3 separate regions of the Homo sapiens genome follow, and all the other regions are linked to region 1. The links are contacts of gene promoters, found by promoter capture Hi-C in blood cells and fetal thymus (Javierre and others, 2016). All regions are on one chromosome and are shown on one strand. The core of a region is centred on a gene start or on the middle of the fragment in contact, and the rest is flanking DNA. Distances in the headings are between cores, read along the strand shown. Region 1 holds the start of PCIF1 (phosphorylated CTD interacting factor 1). Region 2 holds the start of STK4 (serine/threonine kinase 4). Region 3 holds the start of PIGT (phosphatidylinositol glycan anchor biosynthesis class T).

Region 1 (3,721 bases), core at 1,222-3,721:
TTGGTGTTGAGAACTCCGGGCTTAAAATCCCAGTTTTGTTACTTGTTGATGGCTGTGTGAACCTGGACAATGACTTCGCCCCTGCCCCTCGCTCCAACCTGTTTGCTCATGTGCAGATTTAGGTAATAATTCACAGAATTCCATGATAAAACAGAAGACTAGGCACTTGGGATGTTTGGTATCTTGGTTATCAATTAAGAGAATCTGAACAATGAATGAGAAAATACTTTGAAAACATAAAAGAATAGATAAAAGGCCGGGCGCGGTGGCTCACGCCTGTAATCCCAGCACTTTGGGGGGCCGAGGCGGGCGGATCATGAGGTCAGGAGTTTGAGACCAGCCTGGCCAACATCGTGAAACACCGTCTCTACTAAAAATACAAATAAAATTAGGTGGGAGTGGTGGCGGGTGCCTATAATCCCAGCTACTTGGGAGGCTGAGGCAGGAGAATTGCTTGAACCCGGGAGGCAGAGGTTGTAGTGAGCCGAGATCGCGCCACTGCAATCCAGCCCGGGCGACAGTGCGAGATTTCGTCTCAAAAAAAAAAAAGGGTAATAATCACTACATGGTTTTTAAACTTTAGTGAAAGCGCGGGCTAGCTGGGGGGCATGAGCATGGAAAACTGGTTATCCCGTAGGTCAAGAGCGACCACGTAGTTTACTGCCCAAAGCAGTACTTTTTTTTGAGACAGGAGTCTCACTCTGTCGCCCAGGCTGGAGTGCAGTGGCGCGATCTCGACTCACTGCAACCTCTGCCTCCCGGGATCATGTGATTCTCCTGCCTCAGCCTCCCGAGTAGCTGGGATTACAGGCGCGCGCCACCAGGCCTGGCTCATGTTTGTAATTTTAGTAGAGACGGGGTTTCGCCGTGTTGGCCAGGCTGGTCTTGAATTCCTGACCTCAGGTGGTCCACCTGCGTCGGCCTCCCAAAGTGCTGGGATTACCGGGGTGAGCCACCACGCCCGGCCCAAAGCAGGGCACTTCTGAAAAAGGAGGCAATATTAGTAATTATGCCAGGGCAGCAGGCATAAATCAAAGCTGGCCCCCCACCCTTCCAGAACTGAGACAGGACCCAGGAGTCTGGTTTCCCATCAGGCCTCTTATCTGAACGAGAAGCTCTGCGAGGGCAGAACTGCTGTGCCTATATAGAGCTGGCTTATTTCTGGAGGGCTCAAATCTACTTGGAGCAATGCTCATGCCACTGTGAGATGATCACGGCTAACCGATTCAGCACTTAGGAAGCGCCAGGTATTGCGCTGAGGACTTCACATGCATCACCTGAGTTAATTCTCACCAAACCTTTATGAGGTAGGCGGATTTATTATCTTCCACTGAGGAAACTAAAATTTAAATTGGTTAACTCCTTCAAGGCCACACATTTTGGGTGGAGGAGCAGGGATTGAAATCAGATGAGGATCATGAACCCTCGTTCTCAATTACTACTCATATCGGTGCCTCCGTTTTTCTTGAGCGTCCGCCTGCCTGCCCCCACGCTGGCGTGCAGCCAGGACCATGGACATCTGAGAGGCTACTCAGCCGGGGTACCTACAGCCCCTGGCTCCACACAAGCGCCGGTCTGACAGCAGGTGGCAAGCTTTTCCTCTTCTCAAGCTAGCACTGGAAGGGATGCTTGCTGGGGAGACCGGAGATGGGTGGAGCTACCACTCGGACGCCTGCAGGCTCCTACCAAAAAGAATCCTGCAGGGAGCCGGATGAGGAGCACCTCACAGCTGCCAGTTCCCTGCCAGGCTACCCGCTGTAGCTGGTTTGAGGGCTCAGTGAGGCTTTGAACTGCAACTAATGGCCACAGATGTCAATGTTGGAAAGGCCCTACAATGCATTTAGTTGATTTCCCAACTCTGCCGAAAGCCATCTCTATTACTTGCCCCCGAAGGCTAGTTTAAGTTGCTTCTACTCAAGAGCATTTACAGCTTGGGTTCGATGTATATGTAGCCCGGGCATGGGGCAGGGCTTCTTAACATTTGGACACCACGCAGCACAAAGGCCCAGAGAGGGAAAGAGACTGGCTGGAAGAGGCAGAGCCGCGCGGGTGCCAGGACCCAGGTCCTTGCTACGTCCGGAGCCTACGTCACCACGATGCCTCCCCTGGGCCGGCGGCAGAACCCGAGACCCCCGCAGGTTCTAAGACAGCCCCCACGCCCCCCAGTGCGCACGCTCAGTCCAACCCCGCCGCGCACCGCCCACCGCGAACATCCGGCTCCTGCGTGTGTGCTCGAGGGGGAAACTGAGGCGGGGACGTGCCAGTGAATTCATTCCTTCCTCAGTCCACCCGCAGGCCTACAAAGCTGTCTCCCCTTCCTCAGCGCCACAAGGAACAGCAGGGACGGATGGGAAGAAGGGGAGGGGGCCGAAAGCAAGCTGGGTGCGAGGAGCCAGCCGACCCTGCCACACTCAAGATGGCGGCGCGGCCGCGGCGAGGTCCCTCAGAGGCGGTACCAGCGCATGCGCAGCGCGGAGTCCCGGCCCGGGACACAAGATGGCGGCAGCGGCGCTGGGGAGGGCGAGGCGGAGGCGGCAAAACGGGCGGTCGAGCAGAACGTGTAGCCGCGTCCCCTCCAGTCCGCTCCGGGCAGGTAAGAGTCCCAGGAAGCCATGGTCCCGCAGCGAGCCGCGCCAGGGTCTGGGGATCCGAAGCTGGGGGGCGGCGGCCCCTCCGGCGCTTTCTGCTCGGGACTGCCGCTTGCCCTGTCTCTGTTGCCGCCGCCATCTTAGACCCGCGGGTGGGCGGCCGCGCCGGTGGCCGAAGTGAGGGAGGTGGGCCCGGAGAGCCCCAGCGGAGCGGGCTCTAGGGCCCCTCCGCTGCTGCCGCCGCCACCGCCTTTGTGTCGGGCTCCGACTCTGAGTCGCCTCAGCCCGGGGGCGGGAGCGCGCGGCGGGGCGGGGGGCGGAGCCCGAGAGATGGGCCGGCGCGCGCGCGCGCGCCAAACAGCCCACCCTCGCTGGGGTAGGGGGAGGGGAAGGTGCGCGCGCGCGCGCGCGCTGGAGCTCGCCTCTCGCCTTCGTGCGCCGTCGCGCCTGCGTACTTTGTTCGCCCTTTGACTCCTCCCTACTGGGCCGGAGAATTCTGATTGGTACATTGCGGAGATGGTCCCGCCCCACGTGCCTCCAATCCCGGACTCGGACTCTGGCTTCTGGTGGGTTTTTCTGGTTGCGCAGATAGAGTTGTTTATCCTTGAGCAGCGGTAATTCTCAAACTGCGGTATGCGTGGGGGTCGGGAAGCCACAGGATAAATAAAGACGTTAACTTAAGAGCAGTTATGTCTTACTGGGAGCGTACAATGCTGGACTCTACATATAACGGTCGAGTGATTCCGGTTTATAAGCCGGAAAGCAGAAGGGCCCGGAATCCGGGTCTGTCCAACCCAGGGGCTGGTACTTCGGCCACAGACCTGCTGCGCTCAAGTCACATAGGAAATTAAAAATGGTTTTAATTGCAAAAAATGGGTACATTTTTTCAAATAGTGTGAAAAAATGAGTCATCCTGTCTCCCAGTCACTCTTACGGTGCGTTTTAAAAATACAAATTCTTGTGTGCCTCACCTCCGTATTTATTTCTGGCTTCTGAGATGCGCAGTGAGGCACAGGAGTCTGATTTTTTTTTTTTTTTTACAAACTCCAAGATGATTCTGATGCACAGCTGGCTTTGGAAATACTGCAGTGTCCCCATTTAGCCTCACACTAAGCTGTGCCGCTTGTGCGTAT
Region 2 (3,721 bases), core at 656-3,155, 970 kb before region 1:
GCAGCTCAAACCCTTGTTGTTCCCAGGTCAACTGTATATCCAGAGCTTATAGGAAAATACCTCTCCCAGTAACCCTGCTCACCATTTCTCTCTTAAGCTATTATTATGATTAGCCACGGTTTGCTATTTAAATTTAAATTTAAATAAAAATGTGGCCTTTCAGTTATGCTAGCCACATTTAAAGTGCTCAATAGCCATATGTGGCTAATGGTTACTATTTCGGACAGCACATATTTAGAACATTCCCATCATTTCAGAAATTTTCATTGGGAACACTCTGCGGAAAAAGGGGGCCATCATAATGTGAGTCCATCTTCTGGAAAAATCCTGGGAAGGGGACAAAGGAGGTCTGTTTGGCATTGTGTAATGGTAATTTGGTATTTAATTTTCAAAAATGTTTACCCAATTCCTATTCATCAGCCAGGTGTGGTGGCTCTTGCCTGTAATCCCAGCACTCTGGGAGGCCGAGGTGGGAGGACTGCTGCAGCCCAGGAGTTTGAGACCAGCCTGGGTAATAATAGGGAGATCCTGTTTCTACAAAACACCAAAAACAAAACAACAACTTTGATGTTGTGGAGTCAGGACAGTCCTGGGTTAAAACCTTTGCTCTCCTTAGCTGTGTAAACCGTGGGTCTCAGCTTTCTTATCTGTTAACGGTAGGTACTTCTTCCTAGGGCTGTTTTGAGGATTAAGTGAAAGTCCAAGATTGTGTCTGGCACACAGTAGCTTCTCAGCAAATGTTTTCCTCCTATGTCAGGGAATGGCTCCTTTATCCCGTTTTGGGCCCATGGGTGGCCCTGAAGGGTGGGTGCTCAGGTGTTAAGTTCTGTAGATGGCATATCCTTGGGAAAAGCAAGGCAATTAAAAACAGTGAGAGGTTGCTCTGGTTAAGTTTTCTCCTATAACTTTCCCCATGGGTCAATTGGGTAGAATCTGCCATTTTCCTAATACTTACTGATGGTAGTGGCATTCGGAAGCACAATAGCTGAAGCCGGAGCTCTGAGTGGAGAGAAAGGTCTGTTTCTCAGGCCCAAAAAGAGGTTACACACCCATGGCTGTCCAGTTTGGTGGTGCAGGCCCTGAAATCAGACCAAACTGGATTTAAATCCCCAAACCTATACTCTAAGCTATGTGACCTTGGGCTAGATACTTCACCTCTCTGGCCTTATGAAGTAGGAATAATAATAATACCGTCTAGGTTGTTAGGAGTATTAAATGAGGTAAAGCACTGAAAACGTTTAGGGACTGTGTTAAATCATTAAATAAATAAAAACGGGGATGACCTTATCGGCTTGACACAGGGGATTAAATGAGATAATATATGAAGACAAGTACACGGCAAATGCTTAATTAATGTTGCTTATTTTTATGTCTGCAAACTGACTTAAAGGGGAGGCCTTTAAGAAAGACAGTGGGGCAATTTGCGCGTTGATGCATTGTAGGAGAAAATGTGCAGGGGGCCCGTTGGGACCAGAGTTCAACCAGGTAAGCGGCAGAAAACCACAAATACCTCCAGGCGTTCCTGGGGCAGCGCCGCCTCCCCAAAATCACGCAAAACTTGGTTTGCTAAGAATTGTCAGCTCTTCTAAAGGAGGCGCTTCACGCATCTCAGTCTGTGAAATGGGACCCAGGACCCAGGTAGAGGTGCGTTCTCGGCCTGGGGACCGAGTATTTTGTGCGCTCCGGTAACGCAGGAAGACAGCGCCACTGACACTCTAGAGACCAGCGGGCACCGCCTGGAGGCGCCTTCACCACTTGGCGGTTCCGGGTCCGCGCCCCACCGCGCCACAAGACTCACGCCCGAACCACGTGATCAGGGCCGTGGCTCCGCCCCGCTCCCGCGCCGCGCGCCGCTTCCGGTAGGGGCGGAAAGCGGAAGTGTGGGAGGGTCTGCGGGGCGGGCTCAGGAGGTCCGCGGGAGGATGGAGCAGTGAGCGGGTCTGGGCGGCTGCTGGCAGCGCCATGGAGACGGTACAGCTGAGGAACCCGCCGCGCCGGTGAGGGGCCACTGGCTAAGAGGACGGGCATGGGGTCAGGGGAAGAAAAGGCGGGAACTGGTTGAGGGGATACACCTGTGTGGGAGTCCCCGGAGCTAAGCGACCCAGCCGATGGGGCACCTGCTGAGTGAGGGGGGGGACGTCTGGTGGGTGAGGGTCCGGCTGAGGGGAGCATCTGCTAAGGAGGTTAGACTTGGGACCGGTTAGAGGGAGCACTCGCTGTGGTGAGACTGTGCTGAGGAACGTGGGGACAAGTTAGGGAGAGTACCTGCTGAGGCCGGGCCACTCGGGGGAACGCTATCCAAGCAGGGACTCACGGAGGTGGGGGCGAATGCTGAAGCAGGGTGAGAATCTGTGAGGGATCTCTTTAAGGGGGTGGATCGAGAACTGGCCAAGAGGAAGGCCGGGTGGACTTTCTAAGGGTCTGAAGTCCCACTTGAGGGGTGCGGTGGGGGGATCTGTGGAGGGGAAAAGCTTTGCGCCTAAGGCTGAAAGCATGCGAGGAAAGGTTGAGGGTCTAGCAAGGGAGGGGATGGTGGAGGGTAGCATTTCAGAGGATGCTGTTGGTGGTGTCCCCACTGTAGGATGGCATCTTTTATTACTGATGTTCAGTGTCTTCCTAATGGTCTTCACATCCTCCTCAGCTCTTCAGAACCTGACATTGGGAGGTAGGTAAGGAAATAAGAGGATATTTTCGAGATGGGGAGACTGAGGTCCAGAGTAGTTGGGAAGTGTTTCCTTCTTTACTCCGGGTCACTGAACCCTGCCAGTCTGTGCCCTTTTCAGGCCTCAGTTGTTTTGTGAATATCAGCACCAAATCCTAGTGGTACCTGGAATTGCTTTAGTTCAAGATCAGGATGGTGGCTGATCCTAGAAAATCTCAACTCCTGGATTTCCCTTGTGGACATCCCGGGTCTTTTGCCACTCTACCACATCTGGAGAAAAGTAGGGACTAGAGACCGAAGGAGTCATGCTTCTCTGAGGTTCAGTGTGGTTACTTCTATTTCACAGAGACGTCTGACTTCCTGCAGCAGAATGAGCTCTAAAGAAGGAAGTGTTCAGGGTGTGGAAGTGCAGGGCAACCAAGAGGTGAAGAGAAGGGATTGACTGCCTGGGCAGCACTCTTAGGGGTTGTTTGAGCTTGGGGATGTTTGAGGTGCACAAACATTGCAGAAGGCAAATAGGTGGTTGGGATGGGCTTTGGATTCACCCTAGCGTAGTGTGCTGAGACTGTAATAGTAATGATTATTACACTCATATTGCACTTACCGGGTGCCAGGCACTGTTCTAAGTGCTTTCCATGTGTCCTGCTGAAGCATATGAAATTGCTGATATTTGACCATTTTTGAACCATAAAAACCTCATTTGAACTCATTTGAACCTCACAACAATCCTGTGTGGTAGATATCCCTATATGTCTGTTTTACAGATGATAAAACTGAGATACAGAGGGTAGTGATTTGCTGGGAGAAGTCATAGCAAGTAAGAGACAGAGCTAGGATTTTAATGTCTATGGGGTCTGGTCCAAAGTCCATGTTCTTTTTTTTTTTTTGAGACGGAGTCTCACTCTGTCGCCCAGTCTGAAGTGCAGTGGCGCAATCTCGGCTCACTGCTACTTCCGCCTTCTGGGTTCAAGCGATTCTCCTGCCTCAGCCTCCTGTGTAACTGGGACCACAGGTGCGTGCCACCACGCCTGGCTAATTTTTTGTAGTTTTAGTAGAGAC
Region 3 (3,721 bases), core at 913-3,412, 520 kb before region 1:
GGTTTGATAGTGTAGACTATAGTCCTAGCTCCATCACTCATTGTAATCTTTATTATCTTAGTTTATGTACTTCTTAATAATAACACTCAAGCAACCCTATCACTTAGGCACTATTATCTACATTTACATATTAGTGCCTAGGTGACAGGGTTGAGTGTTACTATTAAGCACTTGCTACATTCCATATCCTACATGTACATAATTTCTCATCTTAACAACAACCTTGAAAGTAGGTTTCTTCATTATACAAATGAAGAAAAGTGACACTTGGGTTGATCATGCTCATATGGATTAAAGGCTGGCATAGGGATTTGGACTCCTGTCTTTCTGACATCTAAGCCCATGGCCTTCCTAATATTTCGTGTCTAATGGGGCAGGAACACTGAATGCAGGCAGAATGAAGGCATAATGAGATAAAGACATCTTTCTGACATTTCCTTTCTGGAAATGTCTGGTTGGTTGGCGCATATCTTGGCAGACCTGCCTGACACCAAATTGGCTCTTTCTAGAAGTGTGGTCATGAGTGTCACCAAGAGACTGTTCATGAAATCCTTCATGAATGTGTTTCCCATAGGGCAGGTGGAAAAACTAAAGCATGACTTTAACTTTGGAACTCCGAAAAAGTCAATAAAAAGACAAGCCAGTAAACAAAGGGGTGAGGGTGCAGAAGACTTTAACAGACCTTTCACAAAAAAATAAAAATTAAATTAAAAAATAAATGGCAAATAAGCACATGAACAGATGCTTAACATTTTTAGTTACCAGGGAAATGCAAATTAAAACCACAATGAGCAAACACTACATACATACCCAAGTGGTCAAAACTAAAAAGTACAAAAAATTAGAAACTTCAAATGCTGACCAGGATGTGGTACAATGGAGACTCATAGTTTATGGAAACATAAAATGATACATTTTGGAGAAAGGTCTGACAGTTTCTTATAAAATTAAACATACACCTGCTCTCTGACCCAGCAATTCCACTCTTAAATACCTGGCCAAAGGATATGAGAAATATACGTCTACAAAGGAGCTTGCACAGACAGCAGCCTTGTTAATAATAACCAAAAACTTTAAAAGTGCCCATCAAGAGTTGAATGGATAAATTAATAATACTACGCAGTAATAAAAAGAATTGTGGATACATGCAAGAACATGGATGATTCTCAAAAACATTCTTCCCATGAGAAAAAAAAAAGCCTTACACAGTATACATACTATATGATTTCATTTATATTTAGTTCTGGAACAGATTAATCTATTGTGGGAAAAAATCAGGGTACTAACTGCCTCTGGAAGGTGATAGAGGAGCAGGGATTGACTAGGAAAGGGTATTGCTAATTTTCTGGGGTTTTAGGAATGTTCTGTATCATGATAGGAGTTCGGGTTACATAGGTGTGTGCATTTGTCAAAACTCAGTGAATGTGTACTTTGGATTTGTGCATTTCACTGTATGTGAATTTTACATCAAAATGCAATCGAATACTGAACTCTAGTTAATTATATGCATGCTTAACTACTTAAAGGAAAGTGTACTAATGTCTGCAATTTACTTTGAAGTGCACCAAAACACAAGATGGAATGATGGATGTATAGACAAATATGTGGTAAAGTACAAGTATAGTATAATGTAAATAGTAGAATCTAGGTGGTGGAAAATAGGTTTATTGTAACAGGTGCTCATTCTTTCAATTTTGTTTGAACATTTTCGTAATAAAAGAACCACTTATTTGGGGGTTTTGCAGCAAATGGAGACACTAGAAGCTAAGAGGGGCAGGAGGTTCCTCTTACTTTGGGAAATGCAAATTAAAACCACAATGGTTTTCCCAAAAGTAATTGATCTTTTTCAGTCAATGTTTCCTCAACTATCAAATGGGTAAAATGGCAGTGAAGGAGCTTCATATTATTAAGCATTTCCTGGTGGGTGGAATACGCCATGAACTAGGTGCGGCCTCAAGCTGGTTACTCGCCCTGCCTACTCCCTCTCGTGTCCTCCCAGTACCCCCTTAGACCCACCAGCTCTGAGGGAATCTTCGCGACCTGCGCAGGCGGTCGCTCTGATAACCGCATCCCGGTTTCCGGGACGACAGCGGAAGTCACTTCTCACACGCCTTTCTTATTGGATACCGGCTTTTCATGGGGCCGAGCGCCGCTGGGTAGGCGGAAGTAGCCGCAGGCATGGCGGCGGCTATGCCGCTTGCTCTGCTCGTCCTGTTGCTCCTGGGGCCCGGCGGCTGGTGCCTTGCAGAACCCCCACGCGACAGCCTGCGGGAGGAACTTGTCATCACCCCGCTGCCTTCCGGGGACGTAGCCGCCACATTCCAGTTCCGCACGCGCTGGGATTCGGAGCTTCAGCGGGAAGGAGGTGAGGGCGCGAGATCTGACCAGGGAAAGATTTCCGTAGTGCCTGCTGGCTGGCCGGCCGTGGGATGAAGGCAAACTTTGGGGGCGGGGCCTAATTCCTGGGTAGAGTTCGGGATCCTGGGTGTGGACCCCGACGAGGTGGGGATCGTCACTCACCTGCTCCCGTTTCCCCAGTGTCCCATTACAGGCTCTTTCCCAAAGCCCTGGGGCAGCTGATCTCCAAGTATTCTCTACGGGAGCTGCACCTGTCATTCACACAAGGCTTTTGGAGGACCCGATACTGGGGGCCACCCTTCCTGCAGGCCCCATCAGGTGCAGAGCTGTGGGTCTGGTTCCAAGACACTGTCACTGAGTGAGTGCACACCTTGGGCCCTGTTGCAGGCCATGGAGGGAATGTGGCTGGGAGAGTGTTGTCATCCTGCCACTGCTCTTGGGGACAGCACTTCCAGTAGGCAGCGATTCCATGGGGGTAGAGCTGGCATTGGAAGTAAGAAATGTTACCACAGATGAATAAACTTCCCAATCCTAAAACTTTCAGACCTGAGGTAGCACATGCATATCCCTGGAGAGGCAAATAGCAAACAATTAATGCTTATTTGGAGGTAAGGCAGTAGAAAACTGGCAACTGGATAACCTTTTAAAAGGCATTCATTAATATTTTTTAAATGATAATAAATACCACGAAAGCCAACCATAACATATCTGTGGGTTACAACTGGCCAACAGGATGCTACATCACAGTGTTAGAGGAACTGCTTTTGTTTGGGAGGGGGCAGGTCTAGTTACTGTGCCTACTACAAACCGCTATTTCCCAGTGGCTGCTGTGGCTATCCTGTTTAGAATAGAACCTTTCTGTGCAGTGGTTGCAAACAGGTCTACATGGGCCACACAGGTAAGGAATGAATAAAGGTATTTTTAAAATTGACAAACACAGGAATGAGAAATATATCTCATTTTCCTCTTAATCCCACTATAAGAAATCAATAGTGCAAGTATGATATAACAAGTTTTAGGGCAATAAAAAGGAGCAGCAGGAATTGTGGCAGGCTAGAGAGTTTGTGTGACATTCTAACGAGGACAGCTCTGCCACTCAGCTTCTATGGATTGTTGCCATGTGGGAATAGAGGCCTAATGTGGTCAGAGTCAAATGTTTCTAAAAATTTTTTGTAGAAACAAGGTCTCACTATATTGCCCAGGCTGGTCTCGAACTCCTGGGTTCAAGCGATCCTCCTGCCTCAGCCTCCCAAAGTGTTGGGATTACAGGCAAGAGCCACCACACCTGGCCTCATTTTTCAAGAGATACCAGAAATCTGGAATTTAATGTGAAAATTGGCAAATTCAAATATCAGCAAGTAAT

What was found. Contacts are between HindIII fragments. The CHiCAGO score rates a contact against its expected background, and 5 or more counts as called.
Region 2: the fragment with the promoter of STK4 here is called in contact with the fragment with the promoter of PCIF1 in region 1 in 3 of 17 cell types (non-activated CD4 T cells, fetal thymus and neutrophils); the score reaches 8.0 in non-activated CD4 T cells.
Region 3: a contact is called between the fragment with the promoter of PIGT here and the fragment with the promoter of PCIF1 in region 1, in 7 of 17 cell types (naive CD8 T cells, fetal thymus, erythroblasts and 4 more). The highest score is 7.1, in naive CD8 T cells.

Annotation. Positions count from the first base shown.
Region 1 is chr20:45,932,212-45,935,932 of GRCh38, forward strand. PCIF1 (phosphorylated CTD interacting factor 1) reads left to right here and starts at 2,472. Exons shown (of 17, transcript NM_022104.4): 1 at 2,472-2,593. LOC107985388 (pre-mRNA-splicing factor cwc22-like) reads right to left here and starts at 2,860. Exons shown (of 1, transcript NR_171669.1): 1 at 1,283-2,860. RefSeq lists enhancers at 398-1,090, 1,373-1,522, 1,782-2,473, 2,474-3,164 and a silencer at 2,793-3,002. The HindIII fragment of the contact is 3,152 bases long and covers 1,592-3,721 here.
Region 2 is chr20:44,964,607-44,968,327 of GRCh38, forward strand. STK4 (serine/threonine kinase 4) reads left to right here and starts at 1,906. Exons shown (of 11, transcript NM_006282.5): 1 at 1,906-1,997. The coding sequence starts at 1,963. It overlaps STK4-DT (STK4 divergent transcript), which reads right to left and starts at 1,852. Exons shown (of 3, transcript NR_038341.1): 1 at 1,511-1,852; 2 at 956-1,079; 3 at 1-842. RefSeq lists silencers at 1,731-1,980, 3,661-3,721 and an enhancer at 3,121-3,200. The HindIII fragment of the contact is 5,160 bases long and covers 1-2,469 here.
Region 3 is chr20:45,413,979-45,417,699 of GRCh38, forward strand. PIGT (phosphatidylinositol glycan anchor biosynthesis class T) reads left to right here and starts at 2,163. Exons shown (of 12, transcript NM_015937.6): 1 at 2,163-2,365; 2 at 2,539-2,716. The coding sequence starts at 2,179. It overlaps LOC107985405 (a long non-coding RNA gene), which reads right to left. Exons shown (of 2, transcript XR_001754640.2): 2 at 1-2,839. The HindIII fragment of the contact is 8,427 bases long and covers 1-3,721 here.